3 separate regions of the Homo sapiens genome follow, and all the other regions are linked to region 2. Evidence: promoter capture Hi-C in human tissues and cell types (Jung and others, 2019). All regions are on one chromosome and are shown on one strand. Each heading gives the region's core, a stretch centred on a gene start or on the middle of the fragment in contact. The rest is flanking DNA. Distances are from core to core; before and after follow the strand shown.

What was found. Contacts are between HindIII fragments. The study calls those that stand out against the background at their distance.
Region 1: a fragment that was not itself captured here is called in contact with the fragment with the promoter of PTPRO in region 2 in 2 of the 25 tissues and cell types used here (hippocampus and lymphoblastoid cells).
Region 3: a contact is called between a fragment that was not itself captured here and the fragment with the promoter of PTPRO in region 2, in 3 of the 25 tissues and cell types used here (H1 embryonic stem cells, dorsolateral prefrontal cortex and mesenchymal stem cells).

What each region holds. Positions count from the first base shown.
Region 1 is chr12:15,524,723-15,528,542 of GRCh38, forward strand. PTPRO (protein tyrosine phosphatase receptor type O) reads left to right here. Exons shown (of 27, transcript NM_030667.3): 11 at 92-243; 12 at 1,420-1,540. Among named protein-coding and RNA genes, the nearest start is that of PTPRO, 200 kb to the left of the region's middle. RefSeq lists enhancers at 836-2,035, 1,564-1,633. The HindIII fragment of the contact is 4,719 bases long and covers 1-3,820 here.
Region 2 is chr12:15,320,533-15,324,749 of GRCh38, forward strand. PTPRO (protein tyrosine phosphatase receptor type O) reads left to right here and starts at 1,976. Exons shown (of 27, transcript NM_030667.3): 1 at 1,976-2,269. The coding sequence starts at 2,195. The region is part of intron 2 of LOC105369673 (a long non-coding RNA gene); the gene reads right to left. The HindIII fragment of the contact is 7,625 bases long and covers 247-4,217 here.
Region 3 is chr12:15,462,258-15,466,515 of GRCh38, forward strand. The region is part of intron 1 of PTPRO (protein tyrosine phosphatase receptor type O); the gene reads left to right. Among named protein-coding and RNA genes, the nearest start is that of PTPRO, 140 kb to the left of the region's middle. The HindIII fragment of the contact is 5,115 bases long and covers 1-4,258 here.

The DNA.
Region 1 (3,820 bases), core at 883-3,382, 200 kb after region 2:
AGTTGACTCTATATGGGATTTCATGCTCTGCTGGTAAGTACTTTATTTATCCATCTATTATACTAAATTGTGCCTCGTTTCTCCCTTGTAGCCCCAGTGGCTCCGGAAATCACTTCTGTGGAATATTTCAACAGTCTGTTATATATCAGTTGGACATATGGGGATGATACAACGGACTTGTCCCATTCTAGAATGCTTCACTGGATGGTGGTTGCAGAAGGAAAAAAGAAAATTAAAAAGAGTGTATGTTTCTTTGAATGCCAGCATTGTGTGTCTGTAAATTTAGTTTTATGAACTATTGAAAACCACTAAGCAATCATTTATTGACACGTCAAATGTTTGCATACCAGTTGTCTGTTTTAGGCTCTGGAGATAAGACAGTGAACAAAAATTGAATTCTTCCTTTCATAGAGCTTACCGTTTAATCTTTAACAGTGAGATGTAAGAGCTCCAACTATTGATTTCATTTATATTTAGAATTATGATTTGAGCTTTTTCTTCAGGATGCCAAACATTTTCAAGAAAACTACAATTAACGTGTTTCCCATTTTTTCCCATATATCACCGACACCTAAAGATTTGGGGACCTTGGGACTACTGATTTCTTTTCTCCAAAATACGCTTTTGGATGTTTATTGATAAGGGGACAGACTAAACTACTGTAATAAAGAAACAAACAAAAAGAGAGTGGCTCAAACAAAATAGAAGTTTATACCTCTCCCATGATAGCACAGGACTAACCAGGCACTTCTGCTTTAAGGGGTCACCCAGGGAGGCAAATTCTGTTTTGTTGTTCCATCTGCCACTATGCATAGTCCTTGTCTCTAGAGAGGAAGCTTTATCACCATTACATGCATGTTCCAGCCTGCAGGAAGGGGAAAAGAAAAGGGATGATGTGGAAGCCCAGCACTTACAGGATGTGAACTGAACTGTCATTTGTCCATGTGACTTCTACTTACAATCCACTGATCAGAGCTGGGTCACATCATCCCCTCTAGCTGTAGGAGAGGATGGGAAATAACAATGGCTGTTAGGTAGGAAGCCACACGTCTACAGATATGGGTAGGTTTCTTTTGAACGTCTTAGAATGTACATATCAGTAGCAACTCAGTAATTGTCTTTTCTAAAACCTGTTATCAATATGTGAGAAAATGTCAGAATGAGACCCATTCCAAATAAGGGAATTCATTGCAAAATTTTTCTGATGTATATAATGCATTATTAAGGCTACCTCACATTGGGCCCAGCTGAGGAATTTATAAAATTTTCAGAAGATATAACGTATCTATAATATAATCAATTGCAGACTGCTGCATAGAACAGAGAGGGAATGTGTCTGCTATAGTCCTTTAGTTGTTTGGGGTGGTGCACTGATTCATTCACTAAAAGTTTAAACCCTTGATTTTGATGATCTTGCAGGTAACACGCAATGTCATGACTGCAATTCTCAGCTTGCCTCCAGGCGACATCTATAACCTCTCAGTAACTGCTTGTACTGAAAGAGGAAGTAATACCTCCATGCTCCGCCTTGTCAAGCTAGGTAAGAAGAGTGCACAGAGATGGGTGTGAAATAATCACTAATGTTTGCATCATTCGATTCAGCAAGAGCTCCTCAATTCAATGAAATAATAACAGAAAAATGGCTAATTTTTTATGAGTAGAAAATAGACATTTGTACTAGCAAAAGGGTATGTTCAACTTGGTACAAGTTTCTGTGAGTGGGTTGTATACTGTTCTGGGAAACAGTGGTGTTCGCTGTTCTTTGTAAGGTTAAAGAAACCAGGTAGTCATAGGATTTTGGAGATGGAAGCACATTAGAGATTATCTAATGCAGTGTTCACAACCCTATAAGACAACATTCTATTTTCATATTAATATTATGTAATGCTCTCTTTAATATCTTAAATAGTAATGGATTTAAAAATCTACATATTGATTTTTTAAATTTTATATAGTTTCCCAACTCCAGAATAAAATCAAGACAAAAAGAAACTAATTTATAATAAAATAATATGGATTTCCTAAATATATGGTCAGACACAACTACTCTAAAAGACATAATGAAATTACCTGATGCCTAGATATAATTAAAATGAATAAGTTGGGGTTTATAAGAAATAAAAAGATCATTAGTCCTTCATATAAGAAGTATAAAAATAAGCAAAGAAATGAACAAGTTAATATAAATTGATAACAAATAACTAAACAAGCATAGATACAGGTAGATACTAGAATAAAAACTAGAGTTAAAATAAGTACTAAAAGATGAGATATATTTTCATATAATGAGAGAAAGATGGAAATAATTTTAATTAAAGTAGGGACAACACACCAAAAGTTTATAAATGGCAGCATAGAAGCAAGCTGGCTTCACTCCCCTCTACCCAACAGAAAACCAAAAGCAAATATACACTCTGAGATTTTCACCAGCAACAACCCAGAACTCAAATACGAGGATGCGACCGATTCCAGAGCCATAGAGAAGTGAAAATACTCTGGGCAGATGGTAGGAGAATCAGGCTTCCACATTCGTGACGCCTCCCCCGCGATTCTGCCTGGCAACAAGTGTGCAGAAAATCTTCTGCCAACTCATGTTTCTACACTGGAAAAAGTGAGGTTGAGGTAGTCAACTAGTTTCCCCACTATCTTGGGCTCCCTGGCAGGAAATCTGTCCTTGCCTTAACCCACAGGAAGCATCGTGACTGCCTGAAGGGAGAAATAGCTTGAGGATAGGCAGAAACAAAGAGATGAGATGGAACTACCATTCCCAGTCCCAGCAACTCTGCTCTGTAACTTGGCCAAAGGAGACACCAAATCAGAGTGGCTGTTCAGCAGCACCATACTGTAGGAGGTACATTTCACAGGTCCCTTGGGCATGAGCCCCCCAGCTAACTTTGACACACTGCCAGGATAATTCCTTTAAGACCTTTCTTTTTCAGGACAGGCAGAGCCAAGGCAAATCTGGACTTAAGGTGCCACCTAGAGCTGAAATGTAGGCAGTGATCTAGTGGTAAATATTTGCTAGGCAAACATAGCCAATAAAAGACAAAACAAGGCAAGGCAGACAAAGGAAAGTGGACTAAATAGTTAATTATTTAATGCAAAGACATAGTTCTATGCCCATAAGAAACAACATCAAACAGGGAACTGTGACCCGCCCACGCTACCCAGGAAAAGGACAAAGCAAAAATCCAATGACTGACCCTAACAAGATGGTGATCTGTGAGCTCTCTGAACAAGAATTCAAAATACAGTTTAAGGAAAATCAGTGATGTCCAGGAAAACACAGAAAAGCAATTCAGAAATTTATCAGAGAAATTTTTAAATCAAACAAATTCTTGGTACTGGAAAATACGTTTGCTGAACTGAAAAACACATCACAGCAGAATGGACAAAGGAGTGGAATGATTCAGGGAGCTAAAAGCCTATCTGAAAATACACCATTGGAGGAGAAAAAAGAAAAATAAGACTGAAAGTAAGTGAAGTCTGACTATAAGATATTAAAAAAAAAAGGCTGGGCACGGTGGCTCACACCTGTAATCCCAGCACTTTGGGAGGCCAAGGCGGGCAGATCACGAGGTCAGGAGATCAAGACCATCCTGGCTAACATGGTGAAACCCTGTCTCTAATAAAAATACAAAAAAAAAAAAAAAATTAGCCAGCATGGTGGCGGGTGCCTGTAGTCCCAGCTACTCGGGAGGCTGAGGCAGGAGAATGATGTGAACTCAGGAGGTGGAGCTTGCAGTGAGCCGAGATCGCACCACTGCACACCAGCCTGGGTGACAGAGCAAGAATCTGTCAAAAAAAAAAAAGGTATTAA
Region 2 (4,217 bases), core at 726-3,225:
AAACCAATGATGAGTGGACATGAGGGACCTGAAGAGAGCATGTGATGGGAATGTGAAAACAAAAGAAGCTTCTAAAAGAAGACACCAAGGATAATATTCTCACAAAAATTCAGACCATCATTCTATATTTTCATGCATATGAATTTTGGTACATATTTCATGCATATGAAATTTGGTACATATATACATATATGTACCATGCATATACATATGCGTACATATACATATACGTATGCATACACATATGTATCTATGTACACACATACACATATGTGTACACACATATGTACATGCACACACATATGTGTACACATATGTACATGCACACACATGTGTGTACACATATGTACATGTACACATATGTGTACATGTACACATGTGTATATATACATATTCACACTTATGTAAACATATTCAATCTAAAGCTTCCTTAAGACACATACAAACAACAACCAAATGATTAGTGTTTGGCCATTGCTCATGCAGCAAAAGCTGAGTAAACACAGCTCTGGATCCTTTTCTCAGGCCACCACTCCCTAGCTGTGTGACTGACAAAGTCTATGCCTGAACACCTACATTCATGACCAGGGTGGCCTTTCCTGTCTCCTGTTGCCCAAGCATGTCTCAGGTATAAATAAGTTCCAATACTGACAGGGCACAGCAAGGGTAATTTACATGACAATAAGAAATGATTTCTATCTGAACAGTGCATACCAGAGTTGATTTCGACAGACTTATCTTTAAAAAAATACACATAACAAAAAAGGAGACAAGTAGTAGATTGGGGACCCACAGCTTGAAAGTCGTTGCTTGTGATTCTAAAACATCCCAGTAAAATTATTCACAGATAATTGTTTAAAAATATAACTGTACATACCGTTGACACTTGGACAACACAGAGAATCACGTAGTTGAAAATCCACATATAACTTTGAACTCATCAAAACCTTAACTACTAATAGCCTACTCTTGACCGGAAACCTTACTGATAACATAATAAACAGTTGATTAACACACATTTTGTGTTGTATGTATTGTATACTGTATTCTTACAATAAAGTACGCTAGAGAACAGAAAATATTATTAAGAAAACCATAAAGAGGAGAAAATACATTTATATTCATTGAGTGGAAGTGAATTATCATAAAAGTCTTTAACGTCATCCTTTTCAGGCTGAGCAGGCAGAGGAGGAGGAAGAGGGTTTGGTCTTGCTGTCTCAAGGCTGGCAAAGGTGGAAGAAAATCTGCATATAACTGGACCCAACAGTTCAAACCCGTGTTGTTCAAGGGTCATACATGTAAAATACTGTGATTTTTCCCCCTTCTATATTCAGCTTCAGGTGACCCGACACACTTTGGTATCAAAAGAGAATCTGAAATGTACAAGAACTGCGGATTTCAAATGGAAAAGGTGCATAATTGTGCTATTTGTTCCTGGGTGAGTGTGGGACGGAGACGGTGAGAGTGTTGAAATGGGATGGAGATAATGGAAGCAGTGGGGAAGGAGAGAAAATACCCTTCCTATCACACACACTCACACACTCACACTACACACTATTTCTACAGTCACAACTACCCAACTGTTATTGATCCTTTATAACTGCAATTGAGTACAGATGTAGGAAGATTGAGAGGGAACTGGGATCTGGCGCCTGGATTGCTCAAGAGAGGTCAGGGAAACCCCTCAGAACTCCTGAGACCCAGAGATTGAGGGAGGGGTTGAGGCGGAGTCTGCAATGGGGGCTGTCCAGCAGTAGCAAGCAGCGGGCCGATCCTGGTGGAGGGTTGGGAGGCTGCTGTCATTTTATGGGTCGGCAGCCAGAGTGAGAGTGTCCCTGCTGCCAGAGGACTACGGCGGGCTGGGCGCGGGGTCCCCGCCTCTCGCTCACCACACAGACCCCGCGCCTCCTCTGGCAGCCGCGGTGGTGGCGGCGGCAGAGCCTCGCCCACTCCAATCCCCACCCTCTCCATCCTTAGTCATTAAAGAACAGCAGCGCCTGGCACGTTCTTGGAGGACCCCGGGCGCAGAGGAGGAAAGGGAGCAGGCGCAGGGGGACTGGAAAGGCAGCATGCGCTCGCCAGGAGCAACCTCGGCGCCCAGGGTCTGAGGCTGCAGCCCCAGTTCGCCATTGTGAGCCGCCGCCGGGGGAGTCCGCTAGCGCAGCCGTGCCCCCGAGTCCCCGTCCGCGCAGCGATGGGGCACCTGCCCACGGGGATACACGGCGCCCGCCGCCTCCTGCCTCTGCTCTGGCTCTTTGTGCTGTTCAAGGTAGGGGAGCTCCTCCACCCCTTTTTCCCAGCGGTCCGGGCGGCAGCCGCGCTCCGGCGCCCTCGCTCTGCCGTTGGGAGCGGCGCGCCCCAGGGCACGATGGCCCAGCCGCGGGAAGCGCCTGCCGTGCAGCCTGGGCGCACGCTTTGTTGTCCTCGCGTGTGCGTGTTCCTGGTGGTCTTGAGAGGTAGGGGGCGGGGGGAAGAATAAGGGAAGTTTGCTCCCTCCGGCTTTCGCCCTTTGTGCTCTTTTATCGCTGCTGAAATCCACATCAAAGGTGGGCTTGTTGGATCGTGCTTTCTCAGGCAAAATGAGGTCACTTTCTTTTCTGGTTTCCACTGCACCCCAACGCTGCTTAACCTTTCCGCCCTCCCTCGCACAGAATGCTTTGTCTTAATTTTCCTTACTGCTGGAATTATACACTGGAGAGTGGAGGGGGACTGAGCTCCCTGGACACAAATGGACTGCCAGGGCTACGTTAGGGCAGAATTTTCTTTGAATAAGGAGTGTCAGGTAGAGAGCTTGGTAAGGATTCCTCTCCCCAACTCCTATCAACATCTTTACAATTCCTTTTAAAAAGTCTCCAGACTTTCTCCACTATATTTACAGATGATATTACCCCTAGATTTAATGGTGGAAAAATATATAATAATAAACTTTTTCGTATCTTCTTTGGAATGTGCTACCCTGAGGTTTTACTTTGAGAAAAATGAAAAGCAAAGGAGTTGCTTTTGAAAAATCAGTTTGACAACTATACTGTACATAAATTTTTTTGAAGAAATGTCAGCTAGATGTTTTCTTGGACGGCGATGTGAAGTTCTGAAGTGATTGTCTATCACTCATGTCTTCAGTGGATCTACTTTAGTTCTGTTGTTAGTCTTTTCCTCTCTCCGCAAAGCAAACTCAAGAATGTCGACAGGTGACTTGGAGCTATCCTTTCAGGACCACAGTGATACCTTCCCTAGAAATGGATGCCAGGTTAATGGATCCAAAGGTTTTCTTATTATAGAGTCACTTCTTGCTTATATGCACCATTAATTATGAATGCCTAAAAAGAATATAATGGAACAGGACCAATGGATTAAGAACAGCATTACTTTTAAATACTCCATATTTTCATTTATCTTAATGAAAAATATAAAAAAAATTCAGGGAGAAACAGCAACAGAATGCCTAAGTAAGACCTTAAAATATATTTAATATGTTTTAACATTTTTTCTTAAATTATCAATAATCATTAATTTTAAAGTATGGTAAATAATAAGCTCAGTTATATGTTTTTACTGTAGGAGGTTGTTCTTTCATACACATCATAAATGCATTAGACTTATTAGGTTGTCTATTAGTCGTTTTCTAACTATTTATCAAACTGTCACAACTATTTTACCTATGCAATAATTGTCATGAACCAAAAATTAGAAACCAAGTCACTATGCATTTTACGAGCAACAGCTAAGAGTTATATGTATGACATCTGATCCAAACCTAACGTTTAGCACAACTGCAGGTTTTTGCGTGAGTTCTTCATAATGAGATAATTCCAGAAATAAGAGAATGACTTGGTTGGGAGTGGGGGTAAGGTTTTGCAATTAAAATAAAATAAATGTGGCCATTGTTTGACTTAAAACTCGATATTGGAATGAGAAAATGCAGTTAGTGATGGTGTAATGAAAATGTTAGTGATTGTCATAGAGGTCCAGCCTGCTTCACATAATAGGTATATTCCTGAACATTGCAGGTAAATGTAAATTATGGCAAACTGCTTCCATAGTAAATACATTGGCAAAGTTTGCCATTTAAATAATAATTATTGTAGTGGGACACATAATTTTGTAAGAAAAATCATTTTCCTTTATTTTATGTGAATGTAATATTTTTGTCACCTGAATATAAACTATATCAGAGGAAAGAAGAAAAAACTGTATATATTAAATACCTTCTATGTGCT
Region 3 (4,258 bases), core at 743-3,242, 140 kb after region 2:
GGAATTACAGGCATGCTTCACCATGCCCGACTAATTTTGTATTTTTTCAGTAGAGACCGGGTTTCACCACGTTGGCCAGGCTGGTCTCAAACTCCTGACCTCAAGTGACCCACCCGCCTCGGCCTCCCAAAGTGCTGGGATTGTAGGTGTGAGCCACCACACCTGCCCTTGCTCATCTTTTAAGTGTCATCTTCACCGTCACTGGTAAAATACTCTTGCTGCCATGGTGCTCTGTGCTTTTAGTCATAATATTTGTTGCTTCTTACTGTTATTGCTTATTTGTAACTTATCTCTGTGAGGGCTGAGACCAGTGTTCCGTGCTCACAATCATGTTCTTGTAGATAATACCAAGTAAGCACTAAAAATAATTGCTTGAATTGCCTATATGAATTCTTGTCTTCTACTTCCATTGTTGATTAAATAATAATAAGCTCTAAATATTGCTTTAAGGAATAGGCATAATTCACTCAAGACATGTAGAGAAATTCCTGGCATATATTATTCACTTAATGTATGCTAGCTATTACAATTGTTATTATTCTTTTCTCTCTTTAATTACAGCAGTCAGTATGGGCTTAATTATAATTACCTGATAACTAAAAATTTCTTTCTTACTTTGAAGCTAAATGGAATACTTAAAAATGTAGATGCATTAATCAATTAAACAAATGCATCAGGTTAATAGTATTTCTTATTCCAATGAAACAAAGAATCATATTGTTATATACTATATATATAACTCATCATATTATTATAAATTATGCACCAATATATTTGCAAAATAATGCATTGAATTATTATTAAATTCTTCTGCAAATGGTGTGTGATTTGTTTTCTCAAAGCTTAACTTAATGGGAAAGGCTTGAGAGAAATTGTCATTGTAAAGAAAATAAATCCTGGATACTTATGACCTAAAAGGAAATCTGGCATGTATCTCTTAATATTCTTAGAAATTACTCAAAGGTTCAGCTTTTATTAATTCATAACTCTTCAAAGTTATGAATCAATAGATCCTAAACTCCAATCTCCCATCCAATATTTGAATCTCTGTGGCACCATCTTAGCCCGGTGAATGAACAGCCACTGCATGGAAAGGGAGAAGATTAAAGCTCTATTAGTTCCCATAGCAACATATGATTTATTAAAGTTTTATCTATGATTTTTTTAAGAATGCATTCTCTGCAAATCAGAAACAAATTATAACATAGTCATAGAAGAAAAAATGAAGATGGATGGTGGATAAGGAAACAATTGAGATATTTATATTAGTTTCCTTCTTTGTCAGGCATTAAATAATTATACAGGTAGGAGTTATAACCAGAAAAGATGCAAAATATCAGTCTTATTCTATCACCATTATATCATTCAATATTACTCTTATTCCCAATTTACAAGCTTTCTTCATTGTCTCCTAGCTATTCTTTGTTGATATTCTTTCTCTCCATCTGATTCCTCCTTCCTCCCTTTTTACTTTCATGCTTCTCTTCCTACTAGCTCTCTTTGTTTGTCCAGGTATTCTTTCATTTCTATAATACAATAATATGGTTTTACCTTAATAACCCAGAAACTGAACTATAATAATAAAAATAAATACTCTGACACAGGAGGGGTAGGCTGGACAGCCACAGTGAGAATATGTGGTTAAAGGCTCAAAACATGTAGGCTGGTTATGTGGATGGATAGATAAATTTAATTTTACAGATATTTCTCAAGTTCCAAACAGTAAAGTACTATGCTGTATACTGTGATAGATGATAGGTGAGGTCTCATTTTCTGTACTTCAATGGCTAAAATCTCCCAGAAATTTTATATACAGAACTAACTAAACATAGCACAAAGGAGATGGTAAGAAACAATGCAAAGAGAGGAAGAAGTGAGAAAAAAGAGGCACAGCAGAAGAGAGAAGGGGAATCTTATGCAGGGAGGAGGAAATAGAAATAAAGTAGTTAACAAATGGAAAATTAACATGGACTACAAGAAAGGCATGTTTCAGAACTTCAAGCACATTAACATTGGTTTTTTCAAATCATGTGGATCTAACACACAGCCACTGGTGAAAATGCTGCGTGCTATGACTTTATTCAGTTTTTTTGTTTTGTTTTGGGTTTTTTTTTGGAGACTGAGTCTCACTCTGTCACCCAGGCTGGTGTGCAGTGACACAATCTCGGCTCACTGCAAGCTCCACCTCCTGGGTTCAAGGGATTCTCCTGCCTCAGCCTCCTAAGTAGCTGGGATTACAGGCACATGCCACCACGCCCAGCTAATTTTGTTTTTTTTTTTGTATTTTTAATAGAGGGGGGTTTCACCATCTTGGCCAGGCAGGTCTCCTGACCTCAAGTGATCTGCCCACCTTGGCCTCCCAAAGTGCTGGGATTACAGGTATGAGCCACCGTGCCCAGCTGACTTTATTTAGTCTTTATTATAAATTGAATAAAACCTTTGTAAATAGAGATATTTTGTTTGTTGTAACCTGTGTGGATTATTGTAAATTAGCATGATATACTTGTTTCAGACCACCAATAACAGCCATCTTATGAACAGAGGCTTTCAAATAATAGGCAAATGTGTGAAAAGAGACTTAAACATTTCTGTAAAGAATTCTATGAAAATTTTCAACATTGTCATTAGAACTTGTACCATTAAAATTTTCTAATAATAAAAATCATTTTTAAAAATTATTTTAATGATGCTAAATTTCTATTTTTCACTTTTTGAAATACATATGGTAGCAAGCAATAAGAAAATATTTAATGATGACATGCCAATTAACAAGTTCAATATGTCAAGTAAAAGTAATAATGTTTCCTTAACACCAAATAGCACAGCATGATTTATATAAATGCCCATCCTTCCAAAGAATGGAATCCTTTCACTTGGTGCAATAAGTTGAATACTGTCTTTTTACAGCTGTTCTCAAAGACAAAGATATTTTTGAGCTTCATTTATAAAACATAAATATCATATTGTTGTTCCAGCCTTCTTGTAATTCAAAATAGCATCAGTGCTGGCTGAACATATTACTCATGCATTGGAAAGTTAGAAATGGTGACAATTTGAAGTTAACATTGTGAAATGAAGATGAACGTGCAAAATGTTCTAGCTATATTCTGTTTTATGTGAATAACCTGAACATATTTCTTCTTTATATATTGGTTTAAGAAGATGTTATAAATACCTAACTTGGGGACAGAAGAATTTTAGTAAAGGAGAAGAGACATTTAAAATTACTTCTACGTCTTACTCTAAGAACAATCTGCCAATTAGTAGAGTTGTATGTTTCCAGGTACACAGCCATGTGTCCTAAGATTCAGACAGAAGGTTGTGAGTTTACAGGAAGAAAGAAATCGATTCTTTCTGGGGTATCCTAAAGGCTTCTCACAGAAAGTGGCACTTGAATAGTGTCAGATATTTGAAGCAGGGACAGGATATTTCAACAAGAAGGAATGCATAAATAGGACATAGACAGGGAAGCAGCCGGGGCATATGGAGACTGGGGAGTTTGGCTATTTAATGGGGTTCATGGAGGTTGTGACAGAGAAGTAGTGTCAGATAAGATGGATGGTAAATAGGGGACTAATTGTGGAAGGTTTTGAGTGCTAAGCTAAGTAATTCAGTTTTTATTTGGTAATGAATAAGAAACCCCATGGTTTTTTTTCCCCCAAGTTTTAAAATGCTGAATACACACATGATCAGAGCTGGCTATTTATTGGATACTTAGAATGCACCCAGCTATGTTAGGTGGTTTATAAATATTATCCAATATGATCATCACAAAAGTATGGTTGAAAGAAGTATTAACCCCATTTTTCAGATGAGAGAACTGAGTCTCAGGCTATATAATTTGCCTGTGTACAACAATCTAACAAGCTGATTTTTTTAATCAAAATCTTTTTGTTCATTACTCTACATAATCCTGTTGTTTTCATAATTCTATTGTTTTAACAAAATCCTGTTCCACTATAATCCTGTTATGCTTCATAATCTAGTATTTTGAAGAAGATAAAAATAGAAAAGATTGAGAATATGTCAGAGACTATTTTAATAGCGCAAGAAGTAATCATTCTGATTCAGTTATGTTTGTCACTAGTTCAAGTAACGGCAAATCTGAGTTACCATGGTTTCTGAAAAAATGCACATTGAAAAATTGTATGATGGTTATTTTAGATTTTTAGCATGATGTTGAGGTTTCCTATGCAAGGGAAATTTTAAATTTGTTTTTTGCCTGTTGGATTTCTTATGTTATTCAGAAAGTTTTGCA